3 separate regions of the Homo sapiens genome follow, and regions 1 and 2 are each linked to region 3. The links are contacts of gene promoters, found by promoter capture Hi-C in blood cells and fetal thymus (Javierre and others, 2016). All regions are on one chromosome and are shown on one strand. The core of a region is centred on a gene start or on the middle of the fragment in contact, and the rest is flanking DNA. Distances in the headings are between cores, read along the strand shown.

Region 1 (2,700 bases), core at 118-2,617, 130 kb before region 3:
AATCTAATTTGATGCCACTGAAGCAAAGTTCCCAAGACAGCTGGTAGCTTGGACCAGGAATCCTGTGGGGGCACTGACGGCCCCTGGGGCCAGAGCTGACTCTGTGGCCCTCCCCTCCATATTCATACACTCTGTAAAAGCTACCTGTCCCCTTGTTAACACGTGGCAAGCGAGTCCTTTCTGACTATATCACAGGCAGAAACAAGGCAGAGGCACAAGAAACTACCAACAGCAGGCGTTTTGGTGCGCGCTCCCGTTCATTCGCGTGGGCGACCCGCTGCCCCTTCTAGGGGCACTGAACAATCCAGTTCTGAGCCGGGGAAAGCCTTGATCCTGTAATCTGGTCCCTACTTTCCCCCACGTTCACGCCCAATGCTCCCAGGCTGGAGCTGCTCCGGCGTGTGCCCCTCGTTCGGCCCGGAGCCCTTGGCCCCCAGACCCCGCCACGGCCCCTCCCCCACCAGGGGCGCTTTCCTCCCGCCCTCCTTGGGTTCCCCGGTCCTACCTGCGCCGCGGCCAGGGCTCCCTCGCACAGAGGCAGCTCCGGCCCCTCGGCCGTGGGTCTCCACGAGGATGAGCTCTGGTCTGATCTCAGGACTGCGCGCAGCCCCGCTCCCTATGCCAAGGTCACGGTCTTGGAGAGGCGCGTCTGGCTCGCTGCGCTCCCGGCGCCCGCCTTCGGGTCCGGCCACAGCAGCCCCCGCAGACCCTCTGGGCGGCCGCTGCGGCCCCGGCCCCGGCCCCGGAGCTCCGCCCCTCTCCTGCTCCCCGCCCGCTTGCCCCCTCGGGGTCCCCAACTGCCGAGCCCAGCTCCCCTCGTAGCCCACTCGCGGGCTGCCTTCTAACCCCTACCCCAGTTAGTCCCGGTTCCTTCACCGTCTCCTTAGCCCGCAGAGAGCTTAGCTGACTCTTCAGGGTCGCTGAGGGCGCGTCTTCGGTTCCCCGAGGGCCACAGGCCGGCTCGGGTCCCCAGCAGACGGCGAGCCCCGCGCTTAGGTCCTCTCCTGCCCTCTCCCGTGCCGAGCCAGGGGTTCCCGGCTCTCAAATCCTGTTCCCGCTGTCCTCTTCCCTGACCCCTACTCCTTGGCGATGGAAAGAAGCTTAGGGCGCTTACGACGCCACCAACGTTCTCTGTGCCGAGGGTGGCACAATTTTTTTTTTTCTGATATAAGGCCAGAGATTCACAGTAAAATAAATACAAATCGCGTGCCCAAACTCTTACTCATTCTGCAAGACTCAGGTCAAGCGTTGCCTGTGCCGCAAGACCTCGGTGCTGGCAAACAGCTCCCTCCTTCCACTCTCCTGCGCGAAAGGGCGTGCGGTCCTTCCTGGCTGCAGCCAGGTGCCTGTTGCACTTGGTCTACTCTACCCGACTCCACAGCGCGCTGCTTGGAGGCCCGGACCTGGCCTTGCTTATCCTTGTCCCTAGCCCCTGGCACGGTGCCTGCCACCCATCACAGCACTAGAATATTTTATGAATAAGTGGAAAATTAATTTCTTTTGTAGAAAACCAGTTTTTTTGTATGTGTTTGTTTGTTTTTGGCTTTTTACTCTCAAATAAAGCATACTCCTTTGGGTGGGCAATTTGCTAGGCTCTATAAAGAAACACCAAAAATATTATCCCCTTTAATGCAGTATTCCACCCTTGCGGAAATTTCCAGAACAAAATAATATTCGTGCGGAGATTTTTTTTTTAGCAGGATCATTTGTTACAGAAAATAATTTTAAAAACCACAAAAAGCAAACAGAGCCAAACTGTCAACAGTAGGAAATTTGTTGAATAAATTAGGGTGACTTAATGGGACATTATACAACCATTAAAATGATAAACATCAAGACAGAAGTGCTTCAAATTCTTTTTAGAATAAGGAGGGAGTATGTATTTATTTATAAAGCAAAAAAAAAATAGGAAAACATGAAGTAACATGATAAAATGTTTGCAAAATACTGTTAAGCAAAAAGCAGAAAATTGGGTCGTTTACCATGTTTAAGAACTTCAAATAAAAATGCAGATTTCTTCTCTGCAAAATGGCGATAACATCTACCTCAGGGGGTCCTTGGAGTGTTAAATGAAATAGTCAAGGAAAGTGCCCTGTATAGAATGGATACTCAACAAAGTTTCCATTTCTTTTCTTCAATGGAACACAGACTCAAATCCAGCATGTCAAACACATCCTCATTATGGCCAAGTTCTGCCCATTTGGCTTCCTTTCCCTCAAATACAGGGTAGGAGAAGGAGCTGAGCAAATGCTAAAGCACCAGTGAAGGGGGCAAAATCTGGTTAATAGGAATAAATGTGAAGTCCTCCCTCAGGCCGAAACACCCAGCAATGTAAGTAATGGAGGATGTGGCTCAGTAGTGGTGCCTATCAAAATACCTTAGATTTTATTTTAGTTGGCTACAAGCACAGCTTTGTGAACACCCAAAGGCTGAACGAGTTCAGTTCAAAACCCGAATGAGGCTGCAATCTTAGGCTGAACTGATGCTCTTCACTGGTCGGATTACACCTGGGCATAATGTCCAAATTTGGGCACTATCTTTAAGAAAGTATTACTCTGAAGATCTATTATTGCTTCCATTTTAAAGACGAAGAAACTGATGCATACAGTTTCAGGTATTTAGGGTTGGGTGGCTAGGAGTTGGCAGAGCCAAGAGCTGAACCTGATCAGCTTGACTTACAGTCCTGGTGCTTGATCACTT
Region 2 (2,700 bases), core at 107-2,606, 160 kb after region 3:
CCTACTGGACATTAAAAGAATTATGCTTTTCATGTAATATATCAGTCAGAATATAAGGAATGTTATGTTTTATTTTAATTCCCTATCTATTACAATAGACCAACTAACATGAGAAGAGACATAGAGGTATCTGTCCTCAGTACAGTCAAATCTTGTAAGATTTATATTGCCTCATTTCATGAGAAGTATATACATCTTTGCAAGTAGCCCTAAATTCTTTGGGACCAGAAGAGATATCATTAACTAAAAAAATAGGCAAAATAATAAAGTAATGTATTATTCTTTTAACCCTAGGGATATATATAAATGATCCTCCTAAATATTAATATATTTTAATGTTTTATAATAGCTTGTTTGAAACATACAATGAACTGGGCTTCTTACCTTTGCAGCTCACAGCTTGAGAATTATGCAATCTGGAGTTTAGCCGACACACTGTTAGCTAGTTAGGCAACACTGCCACTGGCTGTGTTAACATACTGATACTGGCATTGTCACTACACCTGTCTCAAAACCTCTGTTCTGTTATTCCAAAGAAATGAGAATAACATCACCTTTTGGCCCACTGTAAGAACTCAGTAAATTTTGGCTATCATTACTATATCCTCCCCACTTACAGAATTTTAGTGTAAGAATTGACTGAGATGATGAGTTTAGAAGTGCTTTAGCGAGTATATAAATGCAAAACATTACTATTCTCTGTTTCTCTGTCCTATCTCCCACAGTAAACTGGGAACACATAGTAACAGAAATTGGATCTATTCTGAAACTTCCATTGGTGTTCAGCAGAAGACTCTGCACACAGGGAGAACTAAGGGCAGAGTTTTTATATTGGTAAAGAAAGAACAATCACACACAGTTCTTCAGACAAGAATGCTTGCCAAGTTTCCCTGGACATTCGAATTGCTTTTTTCCCCCAGGGAAACAGAATATGCAATGAAATTCAGCAAGTCCCTGGATCCCAACTGAAGAACTTTGACTACCTCTTCCTGCTGCTTTGTCTTCTTATGTAAAGGAAGCTTCTGTTTAGATTTGGTTTCAGGTGAATTCTAAATCCAAGAGAGAAGCATTTTAATACCCTAATACAGCTCAGCTGGAAGCTCCAGAGCCCAAGGAAGAGAGCCAAAAGAGGGAGGCCATTCCTCTCAGAGGCAGGATTGAATCTAAGGACTCACCGGAGATGGCTTCTTTGGAGGGCTAGGTGGTCGAGGTGGTACCTCTTCAATGGAGACAGGTGAAAAAAGAGTTTCCTTGGACTCATTTTTCTGGAAAGGATTCATGGCTGGCTCCTTACTCTCTCTCTCTCCTCAAGCATTTGGCTTTAGTAGGCAGTTAGGACAGCTGCCAGCCTACTCTGAAAAGAAGGACTGGGAGGGGGAGCTGGTGGCTTCAGCAACTCAGTTTAACTCTGTGGGTGTCAGCTTCAATAGCTTCCTGATCCAGAGCAAAGCAGGAAGCTATAGTTAAAAAGAATGTGTAAAAGTACAGCACAGCAAAGTGAAAACATGCCAAAGACAGAATGAAACAATGCTAGAGAACTGATTAGAAAGTCTATGTTTAAGAAAGATTATCTTTGCAAAGGAGTAGAAGATAGTTAAGAACACAACACCTCGAGCACAGATTGAAAAACTGATTCCATGGTCAGGCGCGGTGGTTCACGCATATAATCCTAGCACTTTGGAAGGCCCAGGCAGGCGGATCGTTTTAGGTCAGCAGCCTGGCCCACATGGTGAAACCCCGTCTCTACTAAAAATACAAAAAAAAAATTAGCTGGGTGTGGTGGCGGGCGCCTATAATCCCAGCTACTCAGGAGGCTAAGGCAGAAGAATCACTTGAACCTGGGAGGCGGAGGTTGCGGTGAGCTGAGATTGCACCATTGCACTCCAGCCTGGGCAACAAGAGCGAAACTCCATTTCCAAAAAAAAAAAAAAAGAAAAACTGATTTCAGGGTAACAATAGCTGTAATTTATTGAACATCTACTATTGAAAGGTTAATATATATGAATTACATCTATGTTGTATATCTATAACATATATATTTATTCTAATTCATATTACTATCCCCATTTTATAGAAAGTAATGTTCCCAGAGGTTAAGAAATTTGTTCAAAGTACCTGTCCACTAAGTGGCAGATCTGGAATTTTCACTATGCCATGACAGCTGGGAAAAGTGGAGTTAGTGTCAGTCATTATTCAGGTATGGAGGTTACATAAATGGAATGTAGGAATGCAGAGGATTAAAATGCATTGGAGAAGGAAAGTCATCATAAAACTGAGTTTGGAAGATAAGAAAGATGGTGAGTTTTGGCTGGGTGCAGAGGCTTACGCCTGTAATCCCAACACTTTGGGAGGCCGAGGTGGGCTGATCACAGCTCAGGAGTTCAAGATTAGCCTGGCCAACATAGTGAAACCCCATCTCTACTAAAAATACAAAAATTAGCTGGGTGTGGTGGCACGCGCCTGTAGTCCCAGCTACTCAGGAGGCTGAGGCAGGAGAATCGTTTGAACCCAAGAGGCAGAGGTTGCAGTGAGCCGAGACCCCACCACTGCACTCCAGCCTGGGCGACGGAGCAAGACTTGAAAGAAAGAAAGAAAAGAAGGGAAAGAAAGGAAAGAAAGAAAGAAAAGAAGGGAAAGAAAGGAAAGAAAGAAAAGAAAAGAAAGGAAGGAAGGAAGGAGACTTTTGTTTTCAACATCATA
Region 3 (2,700 bases), core at 172-2,671:
TCCACTGGAGCAAAAGGAATCTTTACTGGAAAATTAAATTTTAATCTTCTGAAATAAAAGCAACAAAGCTTTTTCTCAAACCAGTAAGCACTGGGTAGATGAAAGTTACTTCGATTTTCAAAGAACAGTAATTATAAATACATAGTGACGGCCGGGTGCGCGGTGGCTCACGCCTGTAATCCCAGCACTTTGGGAGGCCGAGGTGGCCAGATCACAAGGTCAAGAGATCGAGACCATCCTGGCCAACATGGTGGACCCCGTCTCTACCAAAAATACAAAAATTAGCCGGGCGTGGTGGTGGGCGCCTGTAGTCCCAGCTACTCAGGAGACTGAGGAAGGAGAATCGTTTGAATCCGAGAGGCGGAGGTTGCAGTGAGCTGAGATTGCGCCACTGCACTCCAGCTTGGCGACAGAGCGAGACTCTGTTTCAAAAATAAATAATTAAAAATAAATAAATACATAGTGACTGGCGCCAGCTGCCACCACCCAAGAGAAGGGCGGGTGTGACTCCTTCCAGGAAGTCTCCACAGCATGGAGAAACCTTCTGGCGCACCACGAAGCGGGCAGGAAAGATTTTAGCTCTACCCCTTATGAATAGTGTGAACTTGGGCAAGTTTTTTAAGCCACAGTTACCCCATCTGTCAAAAAGAATGATGATGTCTTTCCAAAAGTCATTGTGAAGAATAAAATTCAATGAAATAGCACTAGTAAAGTACCCAGCACATCATGCATGTTCAATACATGGTAACTAATTTAATCACTCTACCTCCTTCCACTACCCAACCCTGCCCAGAATCTCCCATGGCCTGATTATGACATATTAACTGAGTTTTGCATTTTCTCCTTATACCTCTTTTTTCTCTTTCTTTTTCTTGATCTCTCTCCCTCTACCTTCTCTATCTCATTCCTCCACCCTCAGACCAAACTGACCCTGGTAGACAAAAAACATATTCCCTGTTATTTGTCATTCTTATGCAGATATTTTAAAAATTCCTGATTCTTCACTAAAATCAATGACTGTAACATTCAGTATTTGAATAACAGATTTACAAAACCAAAATTAGGCACCTAAAAATATATATAACTACCACCAATGAACTGCTTTGGGCATTGCAAATAATTCTTGCCTTTATGTGCCAAAGATCTTTTGTAGAAAAAGAAAGCTTCTCCACTTAGGAACTAAGTGAAGGACACACATCAAAGCACCATCTTCAACCTCAGCCTTTCACTGCAGTCACAACTCATAACTTCTCTGCAAAGAATAAGAATTATTACTCACCACTGGGGATCCATTTTGGCTGCTTCTGCTGTGACCTAATATCTGGAAATGACCCCACTCATCCGTGTGTCTGTGCTAGTCCCTGTTACAGCAGCAGAGAAGCAAAGCTTTCACCCTGTGCAAGCCTTCCTCGGCAATGACTGTATACCTACCCAGCTAACTTTCTTTAAGAGAAGCTGTTCCTCTTTTCTCTACAGATTTTGACCACACTTGAGGAAGAAATTTAACCCTTTCCTTGCAGTTTAAACTCATTGACGTAGGTCTATATGTATTAAAGAATATATAATTCAGTAGCTTGAGTTCCAGACATGACGTTAAGATGAGCCTGAATAAAAAATCTCCCCTCTTGAAATTCCCTCAAAAAACCTAGAAAATAAAATAATTAGAAAGAGAAAACAAACCTCCGCAGCAACAAAATAGAATAAAGAGGCATTCTACAGATTTTGATAAGATAATAAAAAGTGATTTATTGTGGATGTGGATTGGGAGTGAGTAGCCACCTAACCCTGCCAATTTCCACAACCAAAGTGTGGAGAGTTTCACTGAGCTGGGGTGGGGGGATGGGAGATGGGGAGATGTTCTGTAAGGACTGCATAACCAAGGAGGGCAGACAGAAGCTACTGCTTTTATTATTTCATTCCTACTATAGCCAAGGATTACATTGATGAAAGCGAATATTCTGAAACAGAAGTCTGAAAAAAAGGCAGCATTATAAAATTAATAGATGTCCCTAAGAGACAAACATAGAATTAATCAAGCAGAAACTATACTAGAAGATATTTCCTCGTATGAATTAAAATGGGCATCATCTAGAAACTCAAACTGTTTAGTGTATCAAAGCAAAAGTTATGAAAATCGATTCTCATCCAGACAAATCATTTTGAACATTTTAAATTCCAAAGGCAAAGCTAAAAACAAAATGAAAACAGAATGACTACAGAGAAACAAAAAACAACTTGGCATCTTACTCAACCCTAAATGGCAAAAAACAACAGAACAATATCTGCAGAATTTTGAATTAGCATTATCTACCTAGATAAGATGCCAGTTAAGTGTCAAGTCAATAGAAATATGTCACCAAGCAGGCAAGAAAACAACAACTGCAACAGAAATACCACCACCAAGACAGCCTTCCTAAATAAATTATTTAAGGATATATTCCAGAATAATAAATGAATTAAAATAGCCTTAAAATGGAGAAGCCATGGCTGAAAACACCAGTGCTGAGCTTTAAAGCAAGTTAAACATGGAGAAATAAGGCTAAATAATTATAAATTAGTTTAGACCAAAATGCTAAATAAGAAAAACTTATTAGAAGTAGATTACATATATTATTTCAAGGAAGTTTAAAAATAGCAGATGACATCACTGCTAACTAGAGCAAGGAAGCAAAATCAACACAATTATTAATCTTCAAATAA

The links. The method cuts DNA at HindIII sites, captures the fragments that hold promoters and counts their contacts. A CHiCAGO score of 5 or more calls a contact.
Region 1: the fragment with the promoter of CASR here is called in contact with the fragment with the promoter of CD86 in region 3 in 16 of 17 cell types (neutrophils, monocytes, M0 macrophages and 13 more); the score reaches 14.6 in neutrophils.
Region 2: a contact is called between the fragment with the promoter of SLC15A2 here and the fragment with the promoter of CD86 in region 3, in 12 of 17 cell types (M2 macrophages, total B cells, naive B cells and 9 more). The highest score is 18.4, in M2 macrophages.

The regions. Positions count from the first base shown.
Region 1 is chr3:122,182,335-122,185,034 of GRCh38, reverse strand. It overlaps CASR (calcium sensing receptor), which reads right to left and starts at 1,367. Exons shown (of 7, transcript NM_000388.4): 1 at 1,223-1,367. The HindIII fragment of the contact is 2,199 bases long and covers 1,103-2,700 here.
Region 2 is chr3:121,893,057-121,895,756 of GRCh38, reverse strand. It overlaps SLC15A2 (solute carrier family 15 member 2), which reads right to left and starts at 1,356. Exons shown (of 22, transcript NM_021082.4): 1 at 1,176-1,356. The coding sequence starts at 1,280. RefSeq lists enhancers at 1,864-2,396, 2,397-2,700. The HindIII fragment of the contact is 13,918 bases long and covers 1,022-2,700 here.
Region 3 is chr3:122,054,083-122,056,782 of GRCh38, reverse strand. It overlaps CD86 (CD86 molecule), which reads right to left and starts at 1,421. Exons shown (of 7, transcript NM_175862.5): 1 at 1,280-1,421. The coding sequence starts at 1,293. It also overlaps a transcript of ILDR1 not described here. The HindIII fragment of the contact is 6,821 bases long and covers 1,389-2,700 here.